6 separate regions of the Homo sapiens genome follow, and regions 1, 2, 4, 5 and 6 are each linked to region 3. Evidence: promoter capture Hi-C in 16 types of primary human blood cells and fetal thymus (Javierre and others, 2016). All regions are on one chromosome and are shown on one strand. The core of a region is centred on a gene start or on the middle of the fragment in contact, and the rest is flanking DNA. Distances in the headings are between cores, read along the strand shown. Region 1 has its middle 4.6 kb from the start of UNC13C. Region 2 overlaps UNC13C (unc-13 homolog C). Region 3 holds the start of RSL24D1 (ribosomal L24 domain containing 1). Region 4 has its middle 6.3 kb from the start of RFX7. Region 5 has its middle 25 kb from the start of UNC13C. Region 6 overlaps ZNF280D (zinc finger protein 280D).

What was found. Contacts are between HindIII fragments. The CHiCAGO score rates a contact against its expected background, and 5 or more counts as called.
Region 1: a contact is called between a fragment that was not itself captured here and the fragment with the promoter of RSL24D1 in region 3, in 3 of 17 cell types (M1 macrophages, M0 macrophages and megakaryocytes). The highest score is 7.7, in M1 macrophages.
Region 2: a contact is called between a fragment that was not itself captured here and the fragment with the promoter of RSL24D1 in region 3, in 1 of 17 cell types (M1 macrophages). The highest score is 5.6, in M1 macrophages.
Region 4: a contact is called between a fragment that was not itself captured here and the fragment with the promoter of RSL24D1 in region 3, in 6 of 17 cell types (non-activated CD4 T cells, total CD8 T cells, naive CD4 T cells and 3 more). The highest score is 12.1, in non-activated CD4 T cells.
Region 5: a contact is called between a fragment that was not itself captured here and the fragment with the promoter of RSL24D1 in region 3, in 1 of 17 cell types (M0 macrophages). The highest score is 8.1, in M0 macrophages.
Region 6: a contact is called between a fragment that was not itself captured here and the fragment with the promoter of RSL24D1 in region 3, in 1 of 17 cell types (non-activated CD4 T cells). The highest score is 6.3, in non-activated CD4 T cells.

Annotation. Positions count from the first base shown.
Region 1 is chr15:53,971,531-53,976,120 of GRCh38, forward strand. It overlaps a transcript of UNC13C not described here. Among named protein-coding and RNA genes, the nearest start is that of UNC13C, 4.6 kb to the right of the region's middle. The HindIII fragment of the contact is 756 bases long and covers 1,153-1,908 here.
Region 2 is chr15:54,117,837-54,122,175 of GRCh38, forward strand. The region is part of intron 2 of UNC13C (unc-13 homolog C); the gene reads left to right. Among named protein-coding and RNA genes, the nearest start is that of UNC13C, 140 kb to the left of the region's middle. The HindIII fragment of the contact is 978 bases long and covers 2,367-3,344 here.
Region 3 is chr15:55,194,877-55,198,863 of GRCh38, forward strand. It overlaps RSL24D1 (ribosomal L24 domain containing 1), which reads right to left and starts at 2,065. Exons shown (of 6, transcript NM_016304.3): 1 at 1,934-2,065. The coding sequence starts at 2,014. RefSeq lists enhancers at 1,185-2,076, 1,870-2,029. The HindIII fragment of the contact is 1,416 bases long and covers 2,051-3,466 here.
Region 4 is chr15:56,247,861-56,252,427 of GRCh38, forward strand. It overlaps a transcript of TEX9 not described here. Among named protein-coding and RNA genes, the nearest start is that of RFX7, 6.3 kb to the left of the region's middle. The HindIII fragment of the contact is 3,453 bases long and covers 44-3,496 here.
Region 5 is chr15:53,951,294-53,955,592 of GRCh38, forward strand. It overlaps a transcript of UNC13C not described here. Among named protein-coding and RNA genes, the nearest start is that of UNC13C, 25 kb to the right of the region's middle. The HindIII fragment of the contact is 1,160 bases long and covers 2,255-3,414 here.
Region 6 is chr15:56,728,563-56,732,707 of GRCh38, forward strand. The region is part of intron 1 of ZNF280D (zinc finger protein 280D); the gene reads right to left. Among named protein-coding and RNA genes, the nearest start is that of ZNF280D, 2.9 kb to the right of the region's middle. The HindIII fragment of the contact is 981 bases long and covers 1,098-2,078 here.

The sequences.
Region 1 (4,590 bases), core at 281-2,780, 1.2 Mb before region 3:
AAGAAAATAAAAATGGAAGTATTTTTATTTTTTAGTATAGGATGATTCATTAAAGTCTCTACTAGCTGTTGGAATTTCAGTGTTATAAGAGGGCAATATTTTAGAGTAGAAGATCTTTCTGGAGTTTTAAAAAGTATACTTTCTTTTAAGAAATATATCTGGAAACTGGAAAATTCATCTATATGAGAAAGATTTTATTATCTCCCTTTTAATTCTTACTATGATCCTATCAGATACTGTTCCCTTCTAGCATTTCCAGAGGTAAGTATCTCTTCCTCTAGCACCTATTTATAAAATGACAATGATGGTGTTGATAAAAGGAACAGCTGATACTGTCAAGTACTTTAAATTTTTAAGTCATTTGGTTTTTACAACAAAAACATGAATAGGTAACACTCTTTATTTTCCTTCATTTTATAGATGACTCATAAATCAAAATTACCAACTGCAAAAATACCAGTTAGAATTATTTTTAAATGACTATGGGTTCATTGTCTTGACTTCCTTTTCCTCCCATGTGATATATTTTATTAATTTGTGATTTAGCTTTTGGTACTTTATAGAGCTTTCTCTCAATAGAGATTGACAAAGTAACCAAAGAGTTTGCTGAAGGAGAGAGAAAAAACGGCAAAGACCTGGACAGTGAAGGGTTCTGAAGAAAACATTACTTAGCTCACAGCTGACCTAGAGTCAACCCTTCCGATGCTTATAAGAGCTTCTTTTTCCCTGGCCCTAAACCAGAAATTAGGGTTTTGTTTTAGCTTTTGCCCTTCTGGGCTCTACAGAACATGTGGACGTGCTCTTTGGAGATAACAACTAGGAAACGGGAGAATCTGAAACCCTGTAAAAAGAAAGGATGCTATGTCCAATCATATTAAATAAAGTGCTCTATGTGGATCTATTTTGATACAAATATTTTAGACCATTTCAAAGAAATATGTTCTTGACTTGCTTCACATTTTATACACATAGTAGGCAGTTAGGTGGAAAGGTCTTTCAGTATGATTCTTGGTTATAACAAGAAATTGGGTAATTAAAATATCTCTAGTACCAAATATAGTTTCTAAAAACCTGTTAGACAAAGGACATCGCCACAAAATTTTGAATCCATGCAGTTTGTGGTCAATAATAATTCTCACCCAGTCATCAGGAAGCTTCTGTCACGGTTATTTTCACTGCTCTTGGGGTCATCAGTGCATATTGAATAACTCCTGAATGATTGGCATGTGATGTTATTCACATTTGTACTCTAGCCTTCAAAAAAAGGAAAGGAAGTCATTGTTGTTTTCTTGGAAGAAAAACCCAATGATCATTTATCACTGTGTACATACGTATTTAAGACATTCATCCTTTCCAATATTGAACAAGATTGCTCAATATATACATCAACTTTATTGTCAAGCATGGAAAAATGTCTAATGTACATAAGACATTTAGTGAGAATATGAATTATTAAGATTATAGTTTTCATTTTTGTCAAGCCAAATTGAAATTTGCATTTGGAAATCTGTAAAGAATAGAAAAGGAAAAAAGAAATAGACATATTGAACACATACAGAAAACTGAGGCTCAGGGAGATTACATAAATAGCATATGGCCATACAGGTGGAAAGTAGTGGAACTCTGAATCAAAGAATGGCTCTTTGGTATTCTAAAACTTATTAAGAATTTTAAAACATTTACTCCTCTGGAAACGTCGCCATTATGAATGGAGGGCAGATTATAGTAGAAAATGACAATATTTGGTAAGAAGTTTAATATATTGATTATTGCTAGCTAATATTTATTGAGTACCTACTACATAATAAGTATATACTATCTAAGTTGCTTTACATGGATTATCTCATTTGATTCATCAGCAAGAGTATAAATAGAAATTACATTTATACCTATTTTGCAGATAAAGCAAGCTTAGAAATGTTAAGAAACTTTACTAAAGTCAGAAAAATAGTACTTGCTAAAGCCCAAATTGGAAACCAGGCACCCTGATTTCAGAGTCTGAGCTCTTCAATGCTGTGCCATATCACTAAATCAGTTTCCTGAATCAACAAAATTAAAAAAAAAAATCCAAAAAGTGGAAAAAAAATTTTTACTTGAGGTCATCCAAATGCTGTGTCTTTTAAAAAATTTAGAACCTCTTTAAAAGTCCCTTCATCTGATGATTTGCTGGAATACAGTGCTGACACATTTTTAATTTTACTGAAGGAAATAAAAAATGAACAACAGAATGAAAGTATAGATGCCGTCCCACCAAACAGCATTCAACATCAAATGATATCTATCCAAAGTCTAACAATCATTACCCAAGCAGAAATATTCTAAAAAAGTGTCTGCTTGAATAATTTACTCCATTTAATTATTAATTTTTTTCAAAAAATTACAGATTGTGCCATTTATTATGCTTGTATAAGTAAATACTTGTCTGCTTTACAGGGGAACCAGTTTTGAAGTAGACGTTCAAGGCCTGATTTTTAATCCAGTCTTAACCACTTACTAGTTCTGTACAACCAGATAAGTCTTGCAAGACTTTGAGCCTGTTTCATCATTACAATATGGGAACCATATAATACTACTATAATGTTTTGCAAGTTTTTAAAGATAAGTATCAAATAAGAAAATGTATGTAATAACACTTTTAAGGGTGTTAAGTTTTAGACACTATTATTGTGTTACTGACTCACTATTGTTGGAATATATAGTTAGAAGGTTTGTTCTGGCACAAATTTGTGAGACAGCTGGTGAGAACTAAGGGCACCATTTGGACCAAGAAATAGAACAAAGCTAATTGGCTACACAGGGACTCAACCCGTGTCCTTAGCCTCATTAACTCTGTGCTTTACTAAGCAAGCACACTATTATTCACTCACTCATCAACCTACCTTTTATGAGTCTAGCCTTCAGCTGGGCATTGGTGATATAAAAATGAATGAACCATGGTCTCTGCCCTCAAGGAGCTCGCAGTCCAGCAAGGAAAATCAGGCAGATGAGTAAAATAGTAGTTAGCATACTGTATAATAAATCAGTGCCACAACAGAGATTTATGAAAGCGCTTAGAAGGCACTGCCAATACTGACTGGAGAAGTACAGCATCCATATCTTGTGACAGAATTTGTTGAGCCTAAAATTTTACTTCTTAAATCACTTAGATGCATTTAAATCCCACAGTTGAAAAATAATCTCATTCCTCAGTTGGAAAAGTCAAAAGCACTTTTTTTTTTTTTTCATTTAAACAATGAACATTTATTATCTCACAGTTCCTGTGGGCCAGAAATTCGAGAATAGCTTACCTGGGTTTTTCTGCCTCAGGGTTTCTCATGTGGTTGCATTTAGCATGTCAGCAGTGGTTGCAGTCATTTGAAAGCTTGAACATGGTTAGAGGGTCAGCTTCTAAAATGGCTCATTCGCATGCCTGTTGGCAGGAGGTCACAGTTTGTGTCTGGCTGTTGGCAGGAGTCCTTAGTTCCTTGCCACGTGGACTTCCCCCTAGGCTGCTTGAGTATCCTCATGACATGGCAACTAACTTCCTCCAGAGTGAGCAAACCAGAGTGGGCAAACAGGAAGTGGCAGTACCTTATGTGGCCTAGTCTCTAAAGTTACATACTGTCAATTCTACTCAAAAGTGCCATTTTAAAGTGACCCATACTTTAATGGAAAGCTTTAATTTAAGAACAGAACTTAACGTGTGTTTTACTACCATGTAATCTATGCTAGGCACATCTTTCCAAATTGCATAAGATGGTTTATTTCCAAATAGTCGTTCTCCTATACATTATTTACTTATATAGAGCTAGAAATGCCAACTTGCTGTTTTAAACATAATCATATTTTTCTCCGTAATTATCTGGACAACTAATCCATTTTGCCAATCCATTTGCATGGAAACAGAGAGCCAATGATTGGTCAGAGTATTGTTTTTTAAAAAATATAATAGTGAGGTTCAATGGTTGGTTACCAATTCCCTAAAATAAAGATCGAGGTTTTCTAAAACACTGAAAACACAATTCCATGCACACAGGATTGGTTTATGCTTTTTCAAGGATTCCTCTATTGCTTAAAGCCAGATATACAGGCCATGACACAATTCTACAAGAATGACCCCTTTACTTGATTCTTTTGGTTTAGTCAAGCTTCACTACTACTGTACTAAAAAATAAGCAGTGACCCAGGTTCCTTGCTTTTCTTCCACCTGAACCATAAATGAGACAAATGATCTGGCTCAGCTTATGTCTTGGGGTATGAGAGGTGAATGGTACCCTAGAGGTTTTATTCTTTCTGAAATGACTGCTGAAGCATTTGGAGGAGAAATGATCTTATTATTTAATCCAACCATCTATAAGTTTTGAGGCATGTACCTATGGATGGGGTGAGTGTATAAATAGAAATTACTTCTTATCCTGTGTTGTTTAATGTTATTAATTCAAGACTTTGAAAAGCTCCGTAGAAACAGAATGCATCTTACTGATAAGAATGTGGCTCTTACTGTTGAAATCTCATCGTTGTAATTACACATTATTCAAATCAGGTACTCAGTAGTGAAAACTACTCGTCAAAAGCCAAAACATTTCTACTAGGGATTTTGATGTCCCTGCA
Region 2 (4,339 bases), core at 1,606-4,105, 1.1 Mb before region 3:
TCCCAAAGTGCTGAGGTTACAAACATGTACTACCACGCCTGGCCCCAAACCATATATTGAGAAGAGTGTCTTTTCCCTATTATATGTTCTTGGCATCTTTGTTGAAAATGTGTTGGCTGTAAATGTGCAGATTTACATCTGGCTTCTCTCTTCTGTTCCTTTGGTCTGTGTGTCTGTTTTTATGCCAATACCATGCTGATTTGGTTACTATAGTTTTATAGTATATTTTGAAGTTCAGATAATGTGATGCTTCAGCTTTTTCTTTATTTTCAGAAAAAAAAAAGATTGCTTTGGCCTTTTGAGTTCTTACGTGGTTCCATATAAATTTTAGAATTGTTTTTTCTATTTTTGTGAAAATAGTATTGGCATTTTCATAGTGAGTATATTTAATCTGTGGATTTCTTTGGGTACTATATTCATTTTAACAATATTACTTCTTCTAATTCATGAACATGGAATATCCACTTTCTTGTGTCCTCTTCAATTTTTTTTCATCAGTGTTTTTTAGTTTTTCTTGTATAGATATTTTACTTCTTTGGTTAAATTGATCCCTAAGTATTTTCTTCTTGTAGCTATTTTAATTGGATTGCTTTCTTGATTTTTTATTCAGATTGTTTGCTGTTGATATATAGAAATGATACTGATTTTTGCATGTTGATTTTCTAACCTGCAACTGTACTGAATTCGTTTATCCCTTCTTATAATTTTTTGGTGGAGTCTAGGTTTTTCTAATATAATATCATGTCATCTGTGAATAGGGATAATTCAACTCATTACCTTCCAGTTTGAATGTCCTTTGTTTTGCTGCCCTACTTACTCTGGCCAGGACTTCCAGTATTATATTGGATAAAAGTGGTAAAAGTGGGCATCATTGTCTTGTTCTAGGTTTTTGAGGAAACGCTTTTAATTTTTCCCTGTTCTGTATGTTAGCTATGTGTTTGTCATTTATGGCCTTTATTATTTTGAGGTATGTTTTTTCTATACTCTGTTTGTTGCGGTTTTTATCATGAAGGGACGTTAAATTTTATCAAATGCTTTTTCAGCATCTATTGAAATGATCTTACGGTTTTTTTTTTTTTGGTTCTGTTAATGTGATGTATCACATTGATTGACATGAGTATCTTGAACCATACTACTTGCATCCTAGGAATAAATCCCACTTGATCATGGTGAATGAGTTTGGAAGTATTCCCTCCTCTCCAGTTTTTTGTTTTTTTTTTTAAAGAATTTGTGTAGAATTGCTGTTAGTAGTTCTTAAATATTTAGTAGAATTCAGTGGTGAAGCCATCAGGTCCTGGGCTTTTCTTTGATCGGAGACTTTTTATTATAGCTTCTATCTTATTACTCAGTAAAGGAAAGCTGAAAGATATTGCGTTTTTTTACAAATCAAAGGTCTGTGGCAATCCTGCATTGAGCAAGTGGTTAGGCAACATTCTTTCAAGAACAGTCTCACTTCATGTCTCTGTATCACATTTGGTAATTCTTGAAATATTTTAATTTTTTTCATGATTATTATGTGTATTATAGTGATCTGTGATCAGTGACCTTTGATATTACTATTGTAATTGTTTTGGAACACCGCATACTGTGCCCATTTATAATGGTGAACTTAAAAAACGTTGTGTGTATTCTGAGTACTCCACATATAGGCCATTAGTTCTCTTTCTCTCTTTTTTGGCATCCTGATTTCTGCAGACACAACAATATTGAAATTAGGCCAATTAGTAACCCTACATTGGCCTCTGAGTGTTTAAGTGAGCTGAAGAGTCACACATCTCTCACTTTAAATTGAAAACTAGAAATGATTAAGCTTAGCGGGGAAGGCATGTCGAAAGTCAATAGGCTGAAAGGTAGGCCTGTTGTGCCTGTTAGCCAAGTTGTATAAGGAAAAGTTCTTGAAGGAAATTAAAAATACTACTTCAGTGAATACACAAATGATAAAAAAGCAAAACAACTTTATTGCTCATATAAAGAAAGTTTTAGTGATCTGGATAGATCATATCAGCCACAACATTCTCTTCCTTAAGCCAAAGCCTAATTCACAACAAGGCCCTAAGGCTCCACAATTCTATGAAGGGTAAGAGGAGTGAGGAAGCCACAGAAGAAAAGTTTGAAGTTGGAAGAGGTCAGTTCATGGAGTTAAAGGAAAAAGCTCTCTCCATAACATAAAAGTACAAGGCAAAGCAAAGAAACAAGTGCTTATGCAGAAGCTGCTGCAAGTTATCCAGAAGACCTAGTTAAGATAATTGATGAAGGTGACTACACTAAACAACAGATTTTCAATATAGACAAAACAGCCTTCTATTGGACGAAAACGACACCAGGACTTTTAAAGCTGGAGAACAGAAGTCAGTGCCTGGCTTCCAAGCTTCAAAGAACAAGCTGATTCTCTTATTAGGAGTTAATGCAGCTGGTGACTCTAAGCTGAAGCCAGTGCTCCATTTTGCATTCTGAAAATCCTAGAGCCTTTGGGAATTATGCTGAGTCTACTCTACTTGTGCTCTGTTAATGGAGCCACAAACCTGGATGATAGCACATTTATTTGCAACGTGGTTTACTGAATACTTACACTGCTCAGAAGAAAAAGAAAGATTGCTTTCAAAGTGTTACAGCTCATTTACAATGTACTTGGTCACTCAAGAGCTCTGAAGGAGATGTACAAAGAGATTAATGTGTTCACACCTACAAACACAACATCTATTCTGCAGCCCATGGATCAGGGAGTAATTTTGACTCTCAAGTCTCATTATTTAAGAAATACATTTTGTAAGGCTATAGCTGCCAAACATAGTGATTTATCAGATGAATCTAGGAAAAAGTCAATTGAAAACCTTCTGGAAAGGATTCGCCATTCTAGATGTCATTAAGGCCATTTGTGATTCATGGGAGGAGGTCAAAATACCAACATTAATAGGAGTTGGAAAAAGTTGATTCCAACCCTCATGGATGACTTTGAGGGGTTCAAGACTTCAGTGAAGGAAGTAACTACAGATGTGGTAGAACTAAAAAGAGAACTGGAATTAGATATGAAGCCTGAAAGTGGGAGTGAATTCCTGCAAACTCATGATTAAACTTCAGTGAGTGAGGAGTTGCTTCTTATGGATGAGCAAAGTAAATGGGTTTCTGAGATGGCATCTACTCCTGGTGAAGATGTTATTGAACATCGTTGAAATGACAAAGGATTTAGAATATTACTACGTAAATTTAGTTGATAAAGCAGCAGCAGCGTTTGAGAGGATGGAGTCCAATTTTGAAAGAATTCCTGCTGTGGGTGAAATGCTATCAAACAGTGTCACAAGGTACAGGCAAATCTTTCCCAGAAGGAAGAGTCAATGAATGTGCCAAGCTTCACTGTTGTCTTATTTCAATAAATTGCCACAGTCACCTCACACTTCAACAACCACCACCCTGATTAGTCAGCATTCATCACAATGGAGGCAATAACCTTCATCAGCAAAAAGATTACAATTTGCGGAAGGCTCAGACGATTGTTAGTATTTTTAGCAATAAAGTATTTTTAATTAAGGCATGCACATTATTTTTTAGACCTAATGCTATTAAACTAGGAAACCAAAAAAAGTGTGTGACTCACTTCATTCCAATATTTGCTTTATTATGGTGGTCTGGAACTAAGTCTGCTATGTTTCTGTGGTATGCCTGTGTGTGTGTGTTTTGTGGCCCTCTGTTTTGTTGCAATAATTATTTTTTAAATGTGTTGTATGACAATATCATAGTTTCTCAATTATCACAGCTTTTTAATTTCCCTTGATATTTAATAGGGCAATGATGCTCTTCTTTTTCTTCTTTTTTCAGTGTTTGCTTGACTATTTTTGTAGAAGTCTTTCAAAAAAATCTTATCGTGTTATTGATTCTGAGTGTATTGTCTTTATATATTAATTTTTAGAAGACTGTATCTTTATATACTAAGCTTTTTACCTATAAAATTTTGTCAGTTTATTCATGTATTCTTTTATCTCTTTCAAAAATGCTTTATATTTTTCTCTGTAAAGGTATTGCACTGCTTTTGTCAGATTTATCTTATGGACATAATATAATCATTATGTTATTGTGAATGAATTATTTTTGTATTGTATTACCTATTTTTATCATTAAAATATGGGCATAGTGTTAAGTTTTTTATGTTGATCTTATATGGAGTGAACTTAACAAGTATTCTTATTGATTTTAATAGGCTGTCTATAGGTTGCTTTGGACTTTTTAATGTAGCCAGTAATATTTGCTAATATGGCAGCTAGTCTGTAAATTATGATTTTGTTGCAATCTTGTTCCATTTTTTTTTTCTTATTTCATTAGTTAGGGCTTTGGGGCACTTTGTTAA
Region 3 (3,987 bases), core at 815-3,314:
ATTGGGCATGGTGGTGCACACCTGTAGTCCCAGCTACTCAGCATGCTGAGGAGGGAGGACTGCTTAAGTACAGGAGACTGAGGCTGCAGAGAGCCATGATCACACATCTGCACTCCAGCCTGGGCAATAGACAGTGAGACCCTGTCTCAAAAAAAAAAAAAAAAAAAAAGGCTAGATAAGAGGCTATAAAAGTGGTAAGAGCCTAATCTGAACTAGGACAGGAAAGTAGAAAGAAGGCAAAGACACCACTATCTTTGCAGAGGCAGGATAGGTAAGACTTGATAACTAGATACAAAAGGTGAAAAGATTCAGACGACTCTCATGTTTCTAGCAAAACTATCCGGGCACTTAAGAGTGGTATTAATTCACAGAGCAAAAAGATCTGAGGTACTAAGGAATTCTCTTTCAGTAGGCCCACTGTACCTACTGTTAGGTACATCCAATGGAAAATTCAGATTTGGAGCTCAGGAGATTTAGGTTTGGAAATCAAGCATAAAAAAAGATGAGATACTTGTTCTTTGTTAGTGCTTCAGGCCCTCTATCTTTTATTTCCTCCAACAACTCTCTTCTGGATCCACTGGTGACTCCCAACCAACTCAACACTGTCCTTATTCTTCATCAACTTAACTTCCACTGTGTCTACCAAATCAATACCCAGGTCTTGACAGTTCTCACGATCTGTTGTTCTAATTCCAATATCCAGCCGACAAGCATCCTGGACGAAAATCACAAAATCGTAACGACATCATGTATAAAACCATACTGCCTACTCTGAATTAGACCCCAACCTGGCAATCTTTTGGTTCATTTTTATAAACTTCTTATCATGTTCCTGAGAGCAAGTATTCAAAATCTTCTAGGTTCTTTTACGTTATCAAACATGGCTTTGGTCCGTCACTTTCAGCTGAATCCCTTGGATCTAATTAATGAGGTCAATATCTTTGATCTGTTACAGAGATATAAGGTGAAGAAGTCAGACTTGTAATTATTTAGCACGTCAAATTCACCTTAATATACAGATTCTTAGACCCTCTTCCCCTCCCCCAAAGATTCCAACTCAATAGATCTGGTGAAAACCAGGAATCTGTAAACGCCCAGTAATTCAGAAGCAAACGTAAGAGATCAAATTCTGAGAAACAATGTGTTTCTCTGAGAAAGAGAGGAACGGGATTCATTCTGTAATGACAGGACAAATTCATGTACCATTCAAAACGTCTTTCACAACTAGGACTCATATTTATTATTTACGTTTACAGACTTATTATACTTGTAGCCCTACGCCCAAGGCTCTATCATCATTTACAATCCAGTCACTTCCTCAAACAAATGTATTTGCTCCGTTCTCTGCCTTTTCTCAAAATGTTCACTTTCCTTCCACTTAGAAGGCCCCCTCCGCTTTCTTCCGCAAAATTCAGGATCCAAGATAAATATCACCTCTATGCTGAGTCTTTCCGTACAGGACCCTCCCCAACTCACCTGCAGTAACTTAATACATAACTCTACCATTAAGCAATACGGAACACTTCCATCAACCTCTACACTTTAGTATGGACCTTAGTGTAATGCCTGACAGGGTATACACTCAACAAAGTTTACTGGATTCAAGAATTTGGCCCAAGTACATGAGTGGCCAAACAGCCCTCACAGACATCCAAGATTCCTGGTAGGCGCTAGCTGGGATCGCTCCTGAAGTTCCTCGCTGCCAACGCCACCCAAGGGTGGCGTGGTGGCCAGCGCCGCTCGGAAGACGGGCAAGGAGAAACCCCCGAAGCGGAACGTTGAGAACGGAGGCCCAGTTAAGCCACCCTCCCAGGGGAACAACGGGAGGAACCCGGGCCAAACACGGCAGACGCAGAAGCACCCAGCACCGAGCCGCCGCGCCCAGGAACCGCGGGAGCTAGGCTGAAGCAAGAACTGGTGTCGACCGCCTTACCTTGCAATCGTTGCGGACGAACATCATGCCGTGTCCAGGATAGATGGGCCCCGAACAGAAATAACACTTTTCGATACGCATGTTGAACCCGCGTGTAACCCCACCAAACAAACGCCAAGCTTGAGAGGAAGTGATGCAACCCCGTCACCGGAAGTTACCTTCTTCCCCCTTCCCCGACCGGAAAAAGGCAAGCGTCCTTCGTTCTCGCGGGTCTGTTAGACCAGATGCGAACACGACTGTGCCTCCGGCGGCCGTGTGGTCAAATGCGCTGCCGTTTGACGCAGGCGCAGAGCTGCAGACTAGACCTGTTCGCTGTTACTTTGGGGAAATGTGGTTCTGCGCCACCTTGTGAACTTGCTCTCACAGCGCCTAGTTTTTTCTCTCTGTGTGTCGGCATTTATGCAAGTATTATGTATCTTTGGTTTGTGCTTTGCCTCGGAGTGCTCTCGAGAGCACTCTCTTAACTCATTTGTCTACTGCCTGCCCTAGACCAGCCCTCGATTCTCGTCCCACAGTGATTTGCAGGGTGTAAGCGGCGAAGACCCTGCAATCCAGCGTTGCTTCGAACATTGCAATGAAAACGGTTGAGTTGCTGATGCTCCAAGGACTTTACCAGCAATTTTTTTAAATATAAAATCGTGTTATCCGCCTCCCCCCCATTTTAATTAATATGCATATGTAGTAAACAAATATTTTCGCCGGAAACTACGACTCCCTCCCTAGACCTGCGGTCTTCCTCCCCAGGGGCAAAACAGTTCCATTTATTACCTGCCAGAGCTTTTCTGTGCATAGGCAAACATGTATATTTGTGTGTTTGCCTGTCTCTACGTCCTCTTCTTTATAATACTAGTTAATATGCTATTTACTCTTTTCTGCATCTTGCTGTTACCTTGTATCCCTTCATTGGAATGTGAGCTCCATGAGGGGCAGGGATTTCAGTTCGTTTGGTTTACAACTACATCCCAGTATCTAGAACAGTCCCTGGCACATAATAGGCATTTGATACATATTTTACTGTAAAAGGGTATTTAACATTCTTTTTCATATATATATGCCATTGTATGAAAGTATTTTAATTGGTCACTAATCGATGGGCATTCTTATCTTTTGATATAATAAGTATCTGTTGGTACGCTTTTTCAGGAGAGGGTTTATGTAGAACTGCTGGATCAGAGGAGCTGGATATAGATAAATAGTTTTAAAATTTGGCAGATAATACTAAATTGCCTTCCAAAAGTTTTTACCAATTAACACTCAGCATCAACAAATAAGATGTCTGTTTCACTACCCCGCTGTGAAAAGTGATCTTTGCCAACCTGAGATGAAAATTTATCTTATTATTATTTCAACTTGAATTTAATTACAAATGATGTTAAGAATCTTTCACAATGTTTTTCAGCTTTTTTCTGTGAATTGCCTGTTCAGGTCCTACGCAGTTTTCTATTCTTTCGTTGATTTTCAACAGCACTTTACACGTTAAGGTTAGTCCTTTGCTGACATGCATTTAGAAATTATTTCCCTATCAATGTTTTAAGCTTTGCTCATGGTATTTTTCCATGCAGAAATATGTTGTTTATATATTCAGATTTATCCAATTTTTTTATGATTTTGGATTTGGTACTTTCCTTTAAACTGCACTTCTCACTCCAAAATTGTTTTTCAAAATGTTTTCTCTTATGTTTTGTAGTTTCATTTTTTTGCATTTGAATTTTCAACTCGTCTGGAATTTAAGTATAAATGACATAAGACTCCAGTGTCTTTCCCTCAGTGCTGTATGTTGATAAAGCATCCTTTCCCCCACTCACTCATAATGTCACATCTATGGCTCCATTTCTGGACTCAGTTCCATCGTTTTATTTGTTAATGTGCCACTGCCCAAATATTTAAATTATTGTCATTTTTTGAATAACTGGGTTTACCTCCTCTCCCTTTCTATTAGTTTTCATGCTGCTGATAAAGACATACCCTAGACTAGGCAATTTATACAGGAAAGAGGTTTAATGGACTCTTTATGGCTGGGGACACCTCACAATCACAGCAGAAGCCGAGGAGGA
Region 4 (4,567 bases), core at 520-3,019, 1.1 Mb after region 3:
TCTTTTCCCCTGATCATTACTTCCTCTGTCTTTTTCCATTGCAAGCTTTCTCCTCTAGAAGCTGAAAGTAGAGTTTAATGACCTACATGTTATTTAAGAGAACAAGGAAAGAAGGCTTTTCACCTCTCCCAATTCTTCCTTGATAGCAGAAAGTGATGGATAATTTCTTTCAGCTAAGCTGTTGTCTTTCAAAGTGCAAGTAGTCCTAGGAGGGCTTATATATATATAAGTTTCAATGCTGTAATGTGATTGAGCTTTCTTTCAGTCTTTAATAGCATTAGAGAGAAGAGGATGTGGGAGGGAGTGAAGAGGAGAAAAATAAAAGCAGCAGCAAGATTACAGAAGAGGGAAGTTGGGGGGTTCAGAACTAAGTTAATATTGGCAAATTTTGATACATGTTCTCAATACCAAGAGTGCTAATGTAAGTATGCTGTGAAAATGTGAATTCTTCTGTTAGAGCACAAATATGTCATTATGTCATTAAAACAATGTATAGCCCAGTGTTAAGGCTAAGTAGCCTAACTATTCAAATACTGTCAAGGCAGCAGACTGTTAACACTGTCACTACCTGGCTATGTGACCCTATCTGTACAAGTCATTCTTTCAAGTACCTTTGCTTATCTCTAAGGATTAGTGGGATAAAGTTCACATAATATACTCAGCTCTTCAAGTGAGTAGTATGATGAAACAAATGCTAGATCCCGCTTTGATTTCACTTAGAAATTTTCCACTGTTGGTACCATATACATGTTTATGTTGTAACTTTCAATTCTTTTACATTAAAGAAGGTTCAAGTTAATATCATCTACATACATTTTAAAGGAAGTGTTTACTTTAACTTGGGCCAAAAAGTCCCAAGTAGAAATTTGATATCTTAGAAATTCAGGAAAGGAGTGGCTGTGAACAGAAGCAGATAAAGAAAAACACTAAATTGTGACACTAAAAGTGTTTTAGTTATTTACTTAACACTAAAAGTGACAATGAAAAGACACCAGAGCCAATCCCACAGTGAGGAAGTCAGTGCCAGTGCAGTCTGAACAGGTGGGGCCTAACCAATAATTCACAAGGTCGATCATTCCTCCATTCCTTTCAAGGCACATTCGAGAACCTGCTATGTACAAGTTACTATATTGGGACCTTAGAAAGATTAAAAAATAAGTAGTAAAATATTGTTCTCATTTTCAAGAAGCTCATAATCTAATTGGAACACTACACATGTCAGCCCATACATATTTTTAAAAGTGAAATAAAAACACAAAAAACAAACAAAAGGTGTGTGACAGGATAATTTATTGAGCTATTTATTTGGGTTTTATGCTCCTTATATTTTCCCTCCCTTCCATTCCAAGCAGGCTTCAAGGGAACTTTGTGTTACTAGGCAGAAAGTTGTCTGACAAGAGCTCTCTCTTAGGCAACTCCAGGGGGCACCATTCACATTTTAAATGAAGCCTCCTGGAACAGGACTCCTTAGAATGCAGTGTCAATGTTATTTCTGGAATTGGACCCAGCAATCTGTCTTTCAAGTTTGTTGCTCCTTGAGGAGATGTTGCTAGGGGGTTAAAAAGGTAAGCACATCTGGGGAGAGAGAGAGAGGGAGGGAGGGAGGGAAGAAAGGAGGGAGGGAGGGAAGGAAGGAAGGGGCGCTGAGACAGGTGGATCACAAGGTCAGGAATTCAAGACCAGCCTGGCGAAGATGGTGAAACCCCGTTTCTACTAAAAATACAAAAATTAGCCGGGCATGATGGCAGGTGCCTGTAATCCCAGCTACTTGGGAGGCTGAGGCTAAGGCAGAGAATTGCTTGAATCAGGGAGGTGGAGGTTGCAGTGAGTCGAGATTGTGCCACTGCACTCCAGCCTGGGCGACACAGTGAGGATCTGTCTCAAAAAAAAAAAAAAAAAAAAAAAAAAGAGGAAAGAAGAAGCATCTATGGGCAGGTGGAATTACAGAAAAAAAAATTCCCATGAGCTGTAGAAAATCAAAGATTGGGGTTCCAGTAGTAAGAATAAGAGTACCCCAGGGAGATACTCTAACCTCATATGGATGCACAATGCCATTAGGGAGGCTGGATTCCCTTGCCTCTCTTGGCCCATAAGTGGAGGAATTGCCAGTGAGGATGTCAAAGTCCATCTTCCATTTTCTAGGCTCAACATAAGTCTTTCAAACCCTACTGCAGTACTAGGAAGAGAGGAAAGCCCAGTAAGAACTGAGATTGGATTTCCTTCTACTCCAGCAGAATTAAGGCTGAGATCACTTAAGTCTGTGGTAAATTTAATTTGATTTAAAGAATAGTGACATGTCTTGCACACCCAAATTTGTACTTGCAAATTTATACTTCCTAGTGGTGGATGCTATATAAAAAAGACACTGGTAGGTGAGATATATAAGATTAAAAACCAGTGAATGGCGTAGCTAATAACTGCTAAGGAAGTTTAGAGAAAGAGCAAAAGGAGCTAAAGTTAAAAGTGGCGTGGAGGACTTGGGATGGAGCTAGAGTGTGAGTAAAATGAAGGATTTATAAAGGTGGGAGAAAGAATGGAGACAAGTCCGAAGGGAAAGGCAGTGTGAGTAGAAGCAGGAAAACGAGCATGCAAATGACAAGACACACAGAAGACTGGTCTAATTGGAGTGAACAGCTGATGATAAAGGTTATATGGGGTACCAAATTCCGAGTGTATTCAAGCTAGTCTGAGGAGTTTGTGCTTCCATACTGTGTACAAAGCGAGGTTCTACGAGAGAACAAGTAGTAGGAGATATATATTTTATATTTGTATGTTTACATATTTTAAAGGAATTGGCTTATGTGATTGTGAGGCTGGCAAGTCTGAAATCTGTAGGGAAGGCCAAAATGCCTTGCATAGTGGATGCTGCAACCCACAGGTGAAATTTCTTCTTCCTTAGGGAAAAAAAAAAACAAAATAATTCAGTTTTGCTCTTAAGACCTTTCACCTGATTGGATGAGACCCACCAAAATTATTTAGGATAATCTACTTAAGTCAACTGATTGTAGCTAATTAACCACATCTGCAAAATACGTACCTTTACAGCAACATCCAGCTTAGAGTATGATTTGAATAGCTGGGTATGTGTCAACTTGGCTAGGCCAAGGAACCATGACACTTACCACACTCTGTAAGTCACTCCTCATGTATTTGAGAAGATGTCTTTGGATTTTCTTTATGTGGATCTCAGGAAAGGTAATTTCTTATGAAGTGGGCCAACCTGTCTCCTTTCCAAGAATAGATCTACTTTCTCTGCTCTTCCCTGTACATAAATGTTTATTCCCAAGGATGAATTTCTATTTTTCTTCATCCCTTTTTCCCTTACCATCTCCTGAAGTTATGCCAGTGTTATATTGTGGCTGATGTTAGTATGTTTTTGTTTTCTCCGTTTAAAATGCCTCTAATTATGCCTGTAGTGTCATTCTCCTAATTCAGCAAAGCCTCAGGTTGTCGGCCATATCCACAGTCACCCTCCAAGCCTGGCTCTGTTGATGTAAGCTTCCATCCTTGTCTCTTGTAACCCTGGCCCCCTAGTTGGAACAGGGCTCAACATTTGACACCATGACAATCAATCTTCCGGCTAGACAGTGGCTTATGAGCTGACTCAATAAAACCTTTGCCCAAGGAAGATGTTAGTAATTAGCTAACGGATTGATTCCTTTTTTGGAGAGTATGAATATGATAAGGAGAGAAGGTTAGGCAGTTGGGAGTAAAAACAGTAGCTGAAAGATACACAAGAGAAAGCTAACCTCAGAAACCATTAGACAACAACCAGAAGAGGCAATGATTAAGCAGAAACTGTGTGAAGAGGAGCTCAGAGGGCTTAAAGAAGATAAGATAATGGCTTAGTGTTGATAGGAGCAGTAGGCCCAGGGAATGATAGAAGCTGAGTAAATTTCCTCATGGAGCACCAGAGAAAGCAGGTGCAAATGAAGAGGAATGGATTATTGGCCAGGCCTTGGGGAAATTCAGGATAACCACCCAGAAATCCAGGAACAGACATACAAGCGACGGCATAGAAACTTAAGGGGAGCTGGGGAGTGAAAAGTTTGTTTAGGCTCCAGTGCAGCTCTAGCAACTGAATTATCTTCTCAGACACTCAGGAGAAGACTTTCATTACTTCCTTAGTTTAGTGTGATTTTCTCCTCCCCCAGAGAGTCTTACACATAAAGTTATGGTGTGAAGGGCTCACTCTTTTGTCAAGAATTGCATCCTCTCAGCAGTTTTCCCTTATCCATTCCCTACCCACTCCCAGCCAGTTTGTGTTAGCTGTCTCTTTTCTGTGGCTCTGTGGTACCTTGTACAGCCTTATGTCATACTATCTCATTGTAGGCTAATTGTAGGTTTGTTTGCCTATTTCTTGCATCTACACTCCCTCTACCTGACTTCCAGTACTACAAACTATATTTGGTCAGGAAGTATGTTTTTAATCTTCTCTATATCTCCAACATATACTATAGTCACTCCCACAAAGTAGCCAAACAATGAATGTTTGTTGAATTGAGCTATTAGAAAAACCTTTTTTTTTTTTTTTTGTCCAGGCCACAAAATAAAAGCAGAATGTCAG
Region 5 (4,299 bases), core at 1,585-4,084, 1.2 Mb before region 3:
ATTTCAACATTTTACCCTGATTTCACATCTATCTAATGTATAAAGGCTTCCTATGGTATTCAACACAGTAATGTGAATAATCAAGCCATTTTTTGGGCTGCCCACTATGTGGGCTGACCCAGGTTTGCCAGGGACAGATTGGGTTTAACTCCATTACAGATTAATTAAAACCTATTAATTATTGTGGTGACCCCTTTCACTCTCAAAAGTGTCCTGGTGTAAACGGTAAATCACATGGCCACCCTATTCTTCACAGCCTTTGTGACATAGGTATTGGTCTCCTAATCCCACAGATAAGGAAATGGTAGTTGGCTTTGAGAGGCTAAGCAACTTGCTTAATCTAGCTAGTGGTGGAGCCAAGATAAAAACTCAGTTCTGTTTGGCCCGCAAATCCATGTTTTTAACCACTACCCTTCAAGGATCCTTTTTCTTCCATATGCTAGGAAAAAATTACTTATAATACAGCGCTGAAATGGGTATCACATCCTTTATTTGTTTTTAAAGTGCAAGTAACCTTTCCTCCTAGGACATTTATCTTTATGTTAAACTTAAATTCATCTTATTGAAAATTCAAGTGATTCTTTGGGCTCTGTCCCAGTGGATCTGGAGACCAGCTGGTCATGAGGATTTTAACTTTTTTCAAGTGTATTTATCCCTCAAGCCTCTGTAAATGGAAAACGTTGACTGCAAGGAACAAAGCCTAGCAGTGCTTTGCATAGCATCCTATACTGCGTTGGTTTATGTATCAGCAATAGGATGATGTGAGGGTTTGGGCAATGCTGAGGCATGTAGTCATGAGCTGAGGTGATATTCTTAAGGCCAAGGACACAGTAAACCATTCCTTGGTTGTCCTGAGAAGAAAAGAGGGCAGTATTTCTAAAGAGTAGGGATTCTGAAGATGTTGAATACATTGCCCTAAAGGTGTGCTGATCTGGAGAAAAGTGGGGTGGTTAGGAAGTAAATGTGGCAATAGTGGCTAAAATTATAAAGTTACCTGGCAGGACAATATCATCTCTATTGGACAGAAAAGGAAATAGATTCATTCAGCTTTTGACTTGCTTGCTCAAGGTTACACACAAATAAAAAGGCCAGATCTTGAATTCAGGGTTTCTAACTAAATAATTCTCCCGTTCATTCTCTCTTCCCCCATCAACTCACCTTCTAACCTATCAATTAATTTATGTTACTAGTTATCAAACATTTGAGTACCAACTTTTGTACCCAAATAGTTCTCAAATTTTGATGGTTATTTGAAACACCTTGGGACCTTTAAAAAATACTGACTTCTTTCTGGCTGCCAACATGGACTTCGTAATTTAATTGCGTGGGCTGTGATCTGGGCATCAGAATTGTTTTAATAAAAACTCGCCAGATGATTTTAATGTATAACCAAATTAGGAATCCGCTGTGCTGGCACTTGATTGAAGCTAGGCATAAGATGACCCAGGCAAACTGATGCTCTTAAAAATTGTAAGGAAATAGGGGATTCAAAGTCCATCCTTCTTACTTAAAGTATACAGAGAAAACATTTAAGCATAGGGGCCTATGGTGTTCATAATATTCAGGGCATACGTAATAAAAGTTTCTAAATGTTGCAGTCTCTTAGAGTGTCTAATTTTTTTTTCCCCTGAGCGGTTTGGGGATGAACACAGCAAAATAAGATTTCTTCAGTGTCTTGTACTTATGTGAAGTGTACAGAGTGAAATATATGCCACTTCTATGTTCGAAACCTGAAGTGAAATAGATATGAATAAGTTGTAATTGAATTAGCACCTCACAACAGCTGCTTTCAGGGGGTAATTTAGGCTTCTTTTTATATCATGCTTCAGACTTTGATGTGATGAAAGGATTTCGGAATGTACTTTCAGAATTCTTCTTTTCCTCAGAGTCACATGGTTAAATGATCAGAGATCACATTTTATTTCTGTGTGGAAAAACCTCCATTAATCTGATGCAAAGTAGGCACTCTTGAATCCTGAGGGAAATGAGAAGTGGCTTTCCTTTTAAGAGCTTGCCAGCTAAGCAGGCAGCTAGGCTGTGCCCATGGGCATCTGCCTCGTGGTGCTCCAGGTGTTTCTCCTCAGGAGGGCCCCAGAAGTCAAGGCACATTAGCAATGAGTCTCCAACTTCTGTCCAATTCAACCCTAAGGACTCTCTAGATCCAGGGGTGTTTCTGGAACAGTAATATTAAGGCATCACCCAAGAGTATTACAAGAGGAGCAAAATAGAGATTCTCCTTTGCAGACTTGAATAAAGCTTGAACCAGTTTGCTGTAAACATGAATGCATTACAAATTGGGGGCAGTTGCTTTGTGGCAGAGACTGGAGGCAATGGCTCAGAGGCAGAATGAATATTCAGATATAACCTGCATGTCCAACAGCCTTTGTTATTACATATGCCAGCACATTAGATATTAATTTAACCTGTGAGGTCATAGAATCAGAAGGGATGATATGAAGAGATCACAGGGCTTTCTGATTCCCTGTTAAATTGCCTCTAAGCTATTTAACATTTAGGATTTATAAGTTTCCACATCACAAAACTCTCCTTGCTCTTCCATCTGCTGGAAGCAGTGTCAGAGCACAGTCCAGACCTGCTTGTTAATTGGTGGATAGATGCTACGTGCAGTTGGCATCAAGACTTCCATGGTGACTGTAAGGGACAGAGTACAGCCAGGTTGGGGGTGCAGGGCTCCGAGCTTCATAGTGAAGGAGCAGCAAGGCAGCACAGCTTTTCATATCCTCCTTTATCTTTGTCTCCTTTCTTTCTCATTCATCATTTCCTATCCATCCTTTAAAGAGCCTGAATTTCTTGTATTCATGGATTGTAAATGGAAAAACTACTAGGTGCCCAATTTTACATACAGAATCTCATTTAACACAATCTGTTGGAAATGGTTATCATCAGCTTATTGTTTTCCTGCTGCATTCTTACATCATGTTCCATGTGCATATCTATAGTGACACAATGTTTTCTCTATTTGTCCCACTAGAGTGTGTGCTTCCTGAGAGAAGAGACAATGTTTCTTTCTGAACTGTTACTGTTAAGCACAGCAGTTTCATATGATGATAGATGCTGGGCATAATTATAAATATATTTAAAAATTTAGTACCTGGTATTTGCCAAGGAAGTAAATATTGAGTGAAGAAAGAAAACTAAAGTCCAAGAAGTGGAAAAGTGTTTTACACAAAGTTACACATAGTTATAAATTGATTCTAACCCCAAAGCTATCATCCTGCTATTATGCAGTCTCCTTTGATGAAGATGAAATCCAACATTAGATGTCACCGTATGTTTTCACAACTTGCTATTGAGTGAGCTGCCCAGGTTTTGCCGTCTAATTATAGGCTTCAAATGGGGTATGAGTTAGATTGGCCTGTTACAGAGTTAGGAATTTAGATGGTTCTCAGGGCAAGCTTATAAAGAAATAGTGATTTCCCTTAATATTTTGGTTCATGTTTAAGAGAGAGGGCATTCTCATTCTCTCAAACTTAAAGGAGAAGCTTTATATGAATTACAAAATGCTACGGTTAAGTTTGTGCTTCAAAAAATACAGTAAATAGACTATATGCTTCTAGCCTTACACAGAGTATCAGTGTACTATTAGGTTGTACCATTAGGCTTTCATAACGAAGTCAAAATGACCAAGGCACCAGCATATTTTCACAGTCCAGCTATAATGCTAAGAAATGAGCTGGCTAGGACGTATGAAATTCAACTTGTGGCTCTACTTATAACATTTTCATGACTATAAGAAGAGAACTGGAACATAGATGTTCAGTAGCATAAGTGCCAGAATAGTGCCATTAAGTGCAAAGCAATTTCAGGTGAACATACATTTTGATTGCAAGCTATCTAGATAATATCTTCAATTATCTATAGTATTTCCCCTGCATAGCCACAGATGCTGAATTGCTTTGTGAAGATTTCCACTTCCTTTTGTACTATGATATCAAAGCTATGACTTTTTCTTACACACACACACACACACACACACACACACACACATAAAACTAGGAGAGAAATCACAATGGGAAAAGAACAACTTAGAAATAGTTTTTGATACCAAACATACTGAATTAAGAAATAAAAAATTATGAGATGGGGTTATTAAAAGACATGATTTTTCAGCTGCTGTATTCTTGTTATTTCATTAGAAAGATATAAGTAGGAATTGAGAAAAGTTGAAACTGCTCCAGCCAAAAAGATGTAGGTAATTAGAGCAATCTACCCTTGGCTGAAACACAATGAAAGTGACAGGGCTGTTGAAATTCCATCTCTAAAGCCTTTAAATACAGT
Region 6 (4,145 bases), core at 338-2,837, 1.5 Mb after region 3:
ACATGCAAAAAGACAACCCAGAAGGAATGACAAGCAAGAACCTATCAGGGAAGCATTTGAAATTTAGAATCAGTATTTATAAGACAAATAGTTCCAGGGTCTTGTATGAAAGTTGCTAAGTACAGACAGTCTCCAACTTAAGATGGTTCAACTTACAACAATTTTCAACTTTATAATGGTGTGAAAGTGCATTCATTACTTCCAGTACTCATACAACCATTCTGTTTTTCACTTTCAGTACAGTACTCAATAAATTACATGAGATACTCAACACTTTATTATTAAAAAATAAGCTTTGAGTTAGATGATGTTGCCCAACTGTAGACTAATATAAATGTTCTGTGCATATTTGAGGTAGGCTAAGCCAAGCTACGATGTTCAGTATGTTAGGTGTATTAAATGCATTTTCAACTCATGATACTTTCAACTAATGACGGGTTTATCAAGGATGTAACCTATCGTAATTCAAGGAGCATCTATAGTTAATTCCATTCAGATGATGTTGCCCATTTCAGGTAGAAATACCTTCAAAAGGTGAAAAACATGAAATGAAAATCTGAGCAACAGGTGACAATGAAATATGATAAGCTTGGACAATGCAGATCTACACAGAGATTGGGAAAAGGCATGAAAGTAGAATCAAGATTGATATATACGAAATGACAGAAAAATTTCAAAATTCTGTCAGACATATAACTTGTGACAAATTTTTTACAAATTTAGACTTGGCTGAATATCACACAGCATCAAACTCTCCTTAGTTGGCACTGTTAGGAAGAACAGCATTGAACTTCTGTGAATTTTCACAAATGGAAAAGCAAAAGAAGTCAACTGCACAAAATCTGGATTTCGAATATAATTCATGATTCTTATTGTCCTAAGGAAAACTATACCTACTCTTCTCAGCTCAGTGCATTCTCAACCATCAATGAATTTTAAAATCCTTGCATAAATTAATCTGAAGTGATCTGTATTACAAAAAGACTACAGAAGTGACACATTCAAAAAGTGGGTCAGAAACAATACTTGGAAGAGAATGATTTGAAGATGGCTTATGACTGATATTAGTTCAGAGTATACTTTCATTGTACGGGAAAAGCTTCAGTTACAAAACTGGAAGTTACCAAGAAGAAATTCCTCATGCAACTAGGAAAATAACTTGCAGAAAATAGGAAGGGAATGTTGTCTTACCCTCTAACCACAATGATTTCTGCACAGATCTGAAAATGGGAAGAAAGAAAGATGTTCTTTGTACAGATACAGAAACTCAAAAAGAAAAAAATGTGTGTTACAATGAGAATGTTTATGCAAAGCGTTCAAATGTGATGTATATTTGTTGTAGGAGTGTTATGTAATTAAATGCATGAAATAGATTTTTTATTTTTTATTTTTCTAAGTACATACAAAGATATCTGCTGTATTGAAATTCTTATTAAAAGCTCCAATAAGTTGTTTTACATTATGCTTTATTTTTACTCCTATAAATTATACATAATAACGTAAAATGCAAAAAAAACCAGTCCCTTTTGACCCAGATGATAGTGATAATTGTACACTTTTCCTCGTATACTGAGGGTTAAGAGAATCCTTAAAATTGCTCTGGAGAAATAAATCAAAATTCTAAACATACAATTTTTGATATAAGGCACTGATTAAATCAAGTCATTATTTAAATCACTATTTAAAGCAATCTGAAAATTCAAAGTTTTTAATTCCTTTCTAAAGCAAGAAAAAAACTATTCAGGATTTATATATTTAATTAGTGAATATGTCGTAAGTATTCCTCATCTTCCAAAACTTGCTTTTGGAATAACAAAGTATGTTGTCAATAGAAATATCCAATTTCCTGTCACCTAAAACTACAGTTGACTTTTCATTTGTGAAAACTGCTATTTCAGTGAGCCAATGCTGATTAATAGAACACTGGAATGAAAAAGGACTGGATTAGTAGCCTAACTGGACAGATGTTCCAGTTGAAGCACTTGCAATCCTCCAACATCAAACTACTTCAGAACTTTTCTATTTACCATAGCTTACTATGGCTAAAATGGTCCTAAGCAAACTTTCAAAGAAGGCAAAGCTTTCTGACATCTACTTTCTGCCTCCTCTCTCCTAGTCTCCCTAGGCTCTGATGCCAACACATAGAAGCATTCCAAGTTCCCTAAAGTAGATGGGTTAGTATTTCCTCCAGAATTGTCTCCACTTCTTCTTCTTCCTAACTTCCAAAGCCATACCTAAACGACTGCTCCCAACTGTGTTTATCAGATTACTGCAGGTAAATTCCTACCAACTACTAATGCCAAAATATCACACCACAAATGACTTGCTAATTGCAGAAGGAAATGCTTACAATGGAAAGATAGCTTGTCACCACCTTATCTAAGAGATCAAATTTAGGATTATTAATAAGACAAGCCTACTTTATGTGCCTTTGGATGTTGTATGCAATGAAGCATACTGCATGGCTTATGAAGTATTCCTGTCAAAAAAATATTAAACCTAAATATATTCAAGCCTTTAGACCCAAATCCAAGTTTAGAGAAAACAGAGAGGATAGGGGGAACAAATTTAAACACTATCAGGAGGAACTATCACTAAAACATGGAATATGGGTTATTCTGAAAGACTACAGACCAGGTCTCTTCAAAAGGTCAATTTCGCCCAGTGCTGTGGCTCACATCTGTAATCCCAGCACTTTGGGAGGCCGAGGCAGGTGGATCACTTGAACCCAGGAGTTTGACACCAGCCTAGGTAACACGGCAAAACCCCATCTCTACAAAAAATACAAAAATTAGCTGAGTGTGGTGGCGTGCTCCTGGGTTCCCAGCTACTCAGGAGGCCGAGGTGGGAGGATGGCTTGAGCCCAGGAAGGAGGTCAAGGATGCAGCGAGCCAAGACTGCTCCACAGCGCTCCATCCTGGGACACAGAGCAAGTACCTATCTCAAAAAAAAAAAAAAAAAAAAAAGACTGAAAAGGAATTTTGAAGAAATGGGGGGAAATGTGAATATATACTACACCACGTTAGATTTTAAGGAATATTCTTCACTTTCTTAAGTGTGATTGCGGTATTGTTACACAGAAAAATGGCCTTGATCTCTTACAAAATACATACTGACACACATACAGCATTTAGGGCTGAACTGTCATATCCGTAATGCACTTTGAAACGTTCAGAAAACAGAATGTGAGATAAGTGGAAAAATGCAAATATGGCAAAAAGGTAGCGTTAAAACTAAGTGTTCAAATGGGCTATTTAACTTTCCAATATTTTCGAAAAAAATAGCAAGTTGCAAAGTTAAGAAATTAACTCGAGAATAAAAATATAAAAGCCAGGCTAGATGGTGCACACCTGTAATCCCAGCTACGGAGGCTGAGGTGAGAGGTCAGCTTGAGCCCAGGAGTCTGAGACCAGCCTGGGCAACATAACAACCGCATTTCAAAAGTAAAGTATAAAAATATCAACGAAAGGGCAACTGAGTAATGTTTCTTAAAATCTTTAAGTGAGCCTCCTTGCCTATTCTCATCTACCTCATTCCCACAAAAATGGTATATACTAGAGTTGAGCACCGGAGAAGGAGTCAGAAGACCTAAGGTTCTATTAATATAATTGGCCTTGGCTCTTCCTAGTCAGTGACCTCATTAAAGTCCTCTCCCTGAGGCTCTGTTTCCTCGCCTGCAAAATGATTCCAGCAACCCAGACCACTTCAAAAGGGGCTAAGAGATACAAATCAGGGGTTATCAATGAAAGGCACAAAAGCAAGACACAATTACAACAGTATTTGTAGTGATGTTAAAACATCAGAGGCACACAGCCCTAACAATGGTATAAGCAAACCAGTGCCTTCCCTGGTTAAGTTTCTGCGTGGAGACAGCTGGAGTTGGCACAGCAGTCCCCCAAAGCAGGACACCTTACAGATGCTAAGAGGCAGCTTTTGTGCTTTAAAACTGTCCTTCTAGCGTTCCATTTTATGTTTCATGGCACTAAAAAAGACAAATTCTGTCCAAACCTGAAAATAAAGCCAAATATTTAAGATGACAGATTTTTTTTTTTTTAACAAATCTTCGCAAACAAAGGCCTTTGGCCAAAGGTCTCCCGTGCTTGCAGAAGCGGGTTCACCTTGACGTTTTTCCTCTCCAGCAGATT